3 separate regions of the Homo sapiens genome follow, and all the other regions are linked to region 3. Evidence: promoter capture Hi-C in human tissues and cell types (Jung and others, 2019). All regions are on one chromosome and are shown on one strand. Each heading gives the region's core, a stretch centred on a gene start or on the middle of the fragment in contact. The rest is flanking DNA. Distances are from core to core; before and after follow the strand shown.

Evidence for each region. The method cuts DNA at HindIII sites, captures the fragments that hold promoters and counts their contacts. A contact is called where the count stands out against the background at its distance.
Region 1: a fragment that was not itself captured here is called in contact with the fragment with the promoter of HLX in region 3 in 1 of the 25 tissues and cell types used here (IMR-90 fibroblasts).
Region 2: a fragment that was not itself captured here is called in contact with the fragment with the promoter of HLX in region 3 in 1 of the 25 tissues and cell types used here (IMR-90 fibroblasts).

The regions. Positions count from the first base shown.
Region 1 is chr1:221,305,778-221,308,477 of GRCh38, reverse strand. It overlaps LOC105372932 (a long non-coding RNA gene), which reads right to left. Exons shown (of 4, transcript XR_922621.2): 2 at 1,502-1,615. Among named protein-coding and RNA genes, the nearest start is that of LINC02817, 29 kb to the left of the region's middle. The HindIII fragment of the contact is 3,269 bases long and covers 1-2,700 here.
Region 2 is chr1:221,334,027-221,336,726 of GRCh38, reverse strand. It overlaps LINC02817 (long intergenic non-protein coding RNA 2817), which reads left to right and starts at 431. Exons shown (of 2, transcript NR_024236.1): 1 at 431-864. All of the region lies in intron 2 of LOC105372932 (a long non-coding RNA gene), which reads right to left. RefSeq lists an enhancer at 102-1,301. The HindIII fragment of the contact is 3,465 bases long and covers 1-2,700 here.
Region 3 is chr1:220,878,143-220,880,842 of GRCh38, reverse strand. It overlaps HLX (H2.0 like homeobox), which reads right to left and starts at 1,400. Exons shown (of 4, transcript NM_021958.4): 1 at 394-1,400. The coding sequence starts at 985. HLX-AS1 (HLX antisense RNA 1) reads left to right here and starts at 703. Exons shown (of 3, transcript NR_046901.1): 1 at 703-994. RefSeq lists an enhancer at 67-675 and a silencer at 1,794-1,843. The HindIII fragment of the contact is 15,886 bases long and covers 1-2,700 here.

The DNA of each region.
Region 1 (2,700 bases), core at 32-2,531, 430 kb before region 3:
GAGTGATGGGTAGGGAACAGGAGTGGTTTCCCAGATATGTGCTGAGTGGTGCTGCTCCACTCCACAGTGCACCTCATAGCTAGCTCACTGTGGCTGCCTGGACTCTTGGCTTCACCTCCATGTGGCAAGGATGTTTAGGGGCTAGTGAACTATGCAGGCTAAACTCAGCTTCTGACAGAATTGTACATCAAGGATCACCTGAACTCATTGAAAAGCCTTTGTTTTAATTTTTGCAAGCTAAATGGGGTTTTATTTCTCATTGCATATGATCTCATCCAACAAATGCCATTTCATGTGGCAAGGATAGTCAAAAATTTTTCCAAAACCATTTTCATGTAACTGGACTTTACTGTGAGAAGAAAAGCATCATTCCTTCCCTTGGAAGCTTTTGCCACCCTTCCTTGCTTATTCTACTCTGTCACACATTTCCATATTTTTATAGGCCCACAAAGCACTTAAGGTGAAGTGATAAATAGATCCCTGTCCAAATGCGTTCCTTTCTATTCACATCTTCTTCCATCCATTCACCTCCAAGGGTGTCTTTCTACCAGCTGATTAATTTAGTGTTTTTTAGCACTATGGTGCAATGCAAAGCTGCCTAAACCAATGATGGATTTATCTACCCTCAGACTCATGCTAACAGGCTATTGTTCATTCCTGACCACAGTTATAAAGACAATGAGAAGAAATCTGAACATGACAGCAAGTTTCAAGGCCCACCTATAACAGCTACAGACATCTGCCTGTTTCTGAGTCTGACAGGAGTTATTTCCATCAGACCATAAAAAAGCTATTTGGATAGTCCTTCTTAGGACATGTGGATATTTTTGTGCACTGATTCTGTTATACATAAAATAGAACTGAACAATTGCACTTTAAAGAGATTTTGTAGTTATCTCAAATCTCTAAACCCTATGGTCTCCAAGCAAACATATGGACCAATGCCCAGGAGGAGTGAAAACAAACAGGACCTTCCTGTCCCTTGTTGACTCTCCTAGCTCCAGCCATAGTTTTAGCTTTCCAGATCATATAGTTAATCCCATAGGGTTTCATGTATAGAGTCCTTGTCAGTAGAAAGAATTGCTCTAAGTCACGAAGGTAACAGTATTTACAAGGGGGCATTACCTTTATTTACCTCCAGAGGGTTCAAATTGCCTTTACTTACATTTCTTCATTTGCTTCTCCTAACAGTGCTAGAAGAAGATTATTCTTACTATATCCATTTCATTTATGAGAAAGGAAGACAGAGTGTTTGCATGATCTGATTACATTACGCATCTTCTAAGAGGCACAACTTGGAACTCCAACCTGGAAATTCAAGTCTAATCAGGCATCTTTCAACTGCACCAATTATTCCATTGAGATTTAGTGAGCACTGGGGAGTGCGAGCACCCTACTGGGTGTCCCCAGTAAGACAGCTCTCAAGTTTTTACAACCCAGTGGCTCTCTACCTAAGACCTCAGAGAACGTTTTAGTATAACAACTAGTATATTCCTCTCACCTGGTAATTTTCATCTTTTCCCCATGACCTTGGGATCCTCACATCTCTGTGATTTCCTCAAAATCAAGCACTGTATCTTGTTCAACTTTGTATCTGCAGCACCCAGCCCAGTGCCTGGAACCCAGGAGATAAGGGATGAGTTGAACAAATAAACAACTATACTAATGTAACAGATACAAGCATTAACAGTGCTAAAATAGTGGCATGAACAAAGTATAATGGCAACAGAAAGGGGGAAGTGACTAAGTCATCCCAGGAACTTGGGAAGGCTTCATAAGAAAGGTGACATTTGAGCCAGACCTTGACCAATTAGAAGGATTTCATAAAGTAGAGAGGAGAAGGAAAGACATTCCAGGTGGGGACTGTATGGATATATCAAAATCTTGTTAAATAAGGCGCTGCACGGCCTGACTGAAAAGTAGCACAGGGCAGCTAAAGGATCTGGGCTTAAAGAGGAGGCACAGATTATGACAGTAAATGAAATCAATTAAATGAATTAAATTTAATTAAAGTACTTAAATTACCGAAAATAAACTGTTTGAATTATTTTCATTTAAATTAATTACAATTGATTAATTAATTATTTAAATAAGAGGTCCTATCTCAAACTATAAGCTCCAAAGAATGTTGTTTTAAGCAAGACAGTTATTAAGAGGAAAATCCTCCACTCTTTTTTTACTGATAAAAAATACGTGTACGTATTTACAGGGTACATGTGATATTTTGTTACATGCATAGAAATCCCTACCTTTAAAGTGGGCATGGCTCACCTTGGTGCCTTCTCCCTGGGCTCCACCCTGTCCCTGCCTGGGAGGAGCTGGCCTGGCCCTCCAGGTTGGTGCAGCAAGCCCAGCCACACCTGGCATGCATTCCGGGTGCAGCCTGCAGCCGCACCTCCAGGACAGGCTGGTGTCTGAGCTGCAGTGCCTTTAGGGATCCCCAAGGCCCCCTCAATCAATAATCCCCAGGGTTTTTCATGAGGGTTGGATTATGAGGATTTGGAAGGGGGACGATTAAGCAGTACTTCAAAGAGGTGCTCGGGCCACACCTGCAGCATTTATGAAGATCTATTAATAGAAAGCACACAATTTAGCACTAATCCCTAATTCATAGAAAATCAATGATTTATGCCTTTGGTCCCAAAAGGCACTGAGAACTTTGGTTCATAGGCTGCCTGGAGGCAGGGTGTGCTGGCCCCA
Region 2 (2,700 bases), core at 55-2,554, 460 kb before region 3:
CTGGAACTCTACAAAAACTGTCTCCGAAACTCTTGGTGACAGAAGATGTTTCTGCAAATGGGTACTGCATGACACATAGGGCCCGGGGCACCTTAAAGAGAGAATCTTGATTTTTTTGAAAATGAAGGTAAATTAAAAATAAAACATATTCTTTTTGTAGAACATGAAGTAACTTTTGAATTCAGTTTATATGTTAAATGGCCCCAGTTTATATGTTGAACAGCCCCCAGGGGCAGTGCCATTGAAGGGGCTGGCTCAGGGTGGCCGGTCATTCTGACATTGTTCCCAGTTCTCCAGTATTGACCGTATCAGGAGAAAGGTTTTCACTTTCTCTTGGATCCTGACATCAGGGGGGAAAAATGCAGTGTCATAGAAAAAAAAAAAAAGTAAAGATCAGCAGACAAGAGGAAAAGTAACTGGTGAGTTTTGGATTTAGAAAAGTTTTGGATTCATCTGTTTATGAGGAGGAAAAGAGGCCAAGAAAAGGCAGCAATTTGTCCATGTGCTTAATTAGTGAGTGGCAGTGGCAGTAACCTGGTCTGCTGAGCTCCCTGGACTCCCTGATCCCAGCTCAAAATAGTTTCCAGTTTTCATCTGCCAGTTGCTTCGGAGGCTTTTCTAAGGAAGACAGTTCATAAAATGACCCAGAATTCATCCTCCTTAGGTGATAGGATCATTACTCCTTATACACCCCCTAGGTCTCAGCCTATGAACAAACACTTGTTTGTTTCTCTGTCTACCCTGTTCCAAACCACCGAACTGGATTTTGCCAACAAGAAGAGCTGTTTCCTGTGCCTGCCCCTGAGAGCTGATGGCTTCCCAGAGATGCCTCACAGTCCTGCGCAGACAGAGAGAATGCAGAAGGCAAGTCTCCTGGGGCCACTTGTGGACTCACGGTTTATAACTTCTTGGTTTTTTTATTGTTGTTGTTTTTTAAAGTCCTAACCCTTAGGCCACTGGCTAACTGATTTATCTTCCCTGGGCAGTGCTTGCCAGAGAGCGGTCACTATGGCCAGAAAGGGGAGGGGCTGTGTCTAAACTGGAATGTTGGAGGTTTTTAACATTTTATCTCTGTCACTCCCTACTGTAATCTCCATCTAACCGCAAAAATGTGGTAGCTTTGATCCACTGATGCTATCTTTCTCTATGTCCCCATACCCTTTCAGGAAGGAGCCTTCAATTCTCCAGACTGAGCTGCAGTACAACCTCAATACTCACCATAGTGAATTTCTCAGTCTTTTTCTCTTTGCTCCATGAAAGCACCCTGAATCTGAGATCTGGTTCAAAGGCTTTCTCCATTCAATCACTACTGGCTGATTAGGCAATGGCAATTTGAGCAATCTCTCTCTCTCTCTCTCACACACACACACACAGACACACACACACACACACACCAGTTTTCCACCACCAAAGGTCTCTTTTGTACAGAACAGTGACTCATTGTTGTGACAGTTTCTGCATCACTAAATGGAAACAATTGTAAGACATCCTCATCTTCCCAGGGCATGAGCTGCTTCAAAAACAGAGAAGCACAAAAGAAAATATTTGTATCTGGCAGTTTTTGCCATTCAGTCACCTGCTTTCCTACTTGGGTTCAGGAGCTGGCTTGATTCCTGCTGTCACCATGCTGGTTATGTGACTCCACTGTCTCCAAGAGACTCCCTTGATGGGGAACATGATTTTGCAACAACCATCCCTTGCGCTTTCTCCTCTTTTCTGGATGGAAATGAAGCATTGCTACCCTATGGCTTAAAGCAGGAGTCCCCGTCCCCAAATGCCACAGACCTGTACCAGTCAGTAGCCTGTTAGGAATCGGGCCATACAGAGGAGGTGAGTGGAAGGCGAGGAAACATTACCGCCTGAGGTTCGCCTCCTGTCAGATCAGCCACGGCATTAGATTTTCGTAAGAACGCGAACCCTATTGTGAACTGCGCATGCCAGGGATCTAGGTCACGTGCTTCTTACGAGACTCTAATGCCTGAGGACCTGAGGTGGAACAGTTTCATCCCGAAACCATCCCCCACCCAACCTCATCCATGGAAAAAATTGTCTTCAATAAAATCGATCCCTGGTACCAAAAAGGTTGGGGACCACTGGCTGAAAGAATTTAGACTAGGGGCTGCCAGTCCATGTTAACATGTGTTTAGTTTCCCCTCGGATGACTGCCCAATAAACTACCTGAGTGCCCTAGAAATCATAGTTACAGAGGCTCAAGGGTGATGACAATGTTCCAAGTCTCCATCTGTCCCCTTTAGTTCATTCAAGAAGTCTTTTCCCTAATGAGAAGAAAATGCTTTTTAAAAAAAGAAATAATTGCTACAAACCTGTAGCACACCAGCCTTAGGACATATTAGAGAAAACCTCCCCCATTGCTGGAGAGCTGGTTCTCAAATCTTAGCTGTTTATCCAAATACTTGACATCGACTTCCTCTTGGAATGTACTCTATCTCAAAGAGGAAGAAGAAATACACCAGTTTGTTGCTTATAAGTTGGCAGGAAAAGGCCTGCACATGATAAGCTTGGACTTCTATTTTAAGGCTTTATTTTTCCAAATAAATCCATATATACAAGGGTTTTGGAACCGAAATAGTCACTGAAAAGTTACACTTCATTGCCTGTTTGGCTGAAGCCAAGGCTAAAGTTCTCTGGAATGGGTTTTGGTAAGGCGGATTTCAGGTCGCAGTAAAAAAAACAAACCAC
Region 3 (2,700 bases), core at 151-2,650:
ACATTTCCTGGGTGAAATTTTTACTAGAAATCAGATAAGTGCGAAAGTGTTTCCCAAAAATGCTTTAGCTGTCAGAAAATATAATTCTGTCTCTAGATACATTATTAAAGAGATCAAAGTCATGTTAGCAGATAATTACACCAACCACTTTTATAAATATTGATTCTAAGACGTGTTTTTAAAGAATCCCTGGAGTCATTTTTTGTTTGTTTTACATAGAACAGGTGAGTTTTAGACCTAATGTTTTGTAGTTTTCTTACAATTCGTTTTCTTCTCTCCCGTTTTACCGATTTGTCCTTAATTGTAAAAACACTCAAAGGCACCCCAAGCCAGCCCGGGGTCCGGGGAGTGGGTCAGTGGTCAGAGGCCTGCAGCCTCCCGCCCAAGACCTACCTCTCAGCGTGTTGCCTTCTTTGACTTTTGGGTCAAATTCTGCAGATAAAATGCGGTCAATTCCAAATTTGAGGTCTTTGCTGGAGGGGGCCGGGGCAGAGCCACTGTGGTGGGGGTTCGGAACCACTCGCGTCCCCGAGGCCGGGGGCTGCAGGGCGCCAGCCCGGGGCGGAGGCGGAGGCTGTTGCTGCTGCGGCTGTTGCTGCTGCTGTTGTTGTTGCGGGTGATGGTGGTGGTAGGCGGCTGAGAGCGGAGACAGCCGCTGCGGGAAGCCAGCCGGGACTTCGGAGGGCGCCACCACTGGGGTGGGTCGAAGCGGGGATCTGGCCGCCGCTTGGAAAGAGGCGTGCGGGTGAACCGAGCCCAAGTGCGCGGTGAGGGCGGCGGCCGAGGCCCCTGCCAGGCCCTCCGGGGCCGCCCCCAGATCCCCCACGCCGGCGTGCAGAATGTCTGCGATGCAGAAGGAGGGCTTTTTGACGGCGGCGGGGTCCAAGGGGAAGGAGCAGCCGCCTGGGCCGGCCGAGGAGCAGTAAGCGGCCGACCAGAGGCTGAAGTTGGAGGCGTAGAAGGGAGCCAGCCCGGCTGCGAACATCCTGCCGGGGTGAGCCGCGCGGCTGCCGCAGTCCAGCCGGACTGGGTGGGTGGGCGCGCGGGGAGGGGCGCGCGAGTCCCGGAGAAGGCGGCGGCAGCCGAGGACGATCCGCTTTCGCTTCTCCGCCCGCACTGAGGAAGAGAGGCCGGGAGCCCTAGCGCCACCGAGGGAGGAGGCGAGGGCCGGATCTCGGCCGGTCACCGCCTCGCTCCCTGGCCTCGCTTTAAAGGCGGCGCGGCGCCCGCACTCCTCGCGGGCTGGATGAGAGCGAGGGGCGCTGGGGCCGCAGGGCGGGCGGGGGAGCCAGGGAGACGGGAGCCGGACACCGCAAGAAAACCCAAATAGCTAAGCCCTAAGAGCTAAATTTAAAACAACAACAATAATAGTCCGTTAGTTAGGGGGGGGGAAAAGTAATAGAAAAAAAAAAAAACTCGTCTCTAAAAACTCCCAAAGTTTTGGCAGGAGCTTTCGAGTCAGGCCCGGGGTAGGACCTCGATCCGAGCGCTCATTGGTCATCCTCGTGACCAATGGGAGCGGGGAGTGGAGGGGAATTAGGAACAAGGGGGCCTGGCCGGACCCTAGCCACGCCCCGGCCACGCCAAAGTTTTTGCTGCGGCCGCGTGGGCTTAGTAGCGCACATCGCAGTGCTTCTTGCTACTCTGCGTAGGGGCCAGGCAGCCGCTCCGGAGGGCTCTGACTCTCTTCTAACTTCTGCAGCTCCGAACCGCCACGGGGCAAGGAGGGTTGATCACAGGAGCTTTCCTGAAGCGCTTGTCACCCGGGGCGAGTTGGGGGCGTGGGGAAGGGACGGTAATCTCACTCTTTAGGGCTCTGCAAAGCCCGCCTCCCGGTGGAGAGCGGAGCGCGCTTTGGCCCCTTTGCTTCCCTTCTCTTGACCTCATTCTGCTTTTATTCCAGGAGTCCGTGTCCTCGGCAAAGCCCCTCATCTTTCCTGGGCCCTTGCCCAAATGTTGCCGCCCTGAGTCCCGGCCCAACTCAGCACCGCGTCCGCCTCGTGCCTCCCAGGAGATCCTCCGGGAAGCGAGGAGGAGGGGCGGCCGCAAATTGGTTTTATTCTGAGCTGTCACACAGTGACAAATTGAACGAGTGACTTTTCAAACAAAATAAGACGGATGGCTCCAAACGTCTCTCTTAGACGCAGCCAAACCTTTCCCCGGAGCCTCAGAGGCTACAAAACAGGCTGCCTCCCGAAACCCGGGAGAGCGGCACGCGCTTCCATCCTTTGCAGGAGGTTGTAGGAAATGTTAGCCTCACCCCTCCACCACATCTCCGGATCACGTGGGGTTCGTTGTTTTGCAAGTGCCCACAAGAGCAGATTTCCGTGGGGTTCAATACTGCTTTCAATTCTGTGACAGCTTCCCCAGGAACCCCTTGGGCCTGGTTGCAGGAGGAGCTGCGTGGTGGTCAACGTCTTCCATTCGTGCCTTGGGTCTTTAGAACGCAGGGTAGTGGTGGTGGAGGTTTTGTGCAACATCGACATATCTATTTTAAGAATTTCTTCTCTTTAAATTATAGTCAGAATGAATTTCCCCACCCCTCTCCCAAACAAACCACAGGCCACCCAGATGAGCTGTTCTTGCACATTTTCAGGAAGAAAATAAAATAATACGAATAATGAAACCACGAAAACTTTTGTTTTCGATTGCCCTAATAAGCATCTCCTAACAGGGATTCTGTGACATTTTTATTTCCCT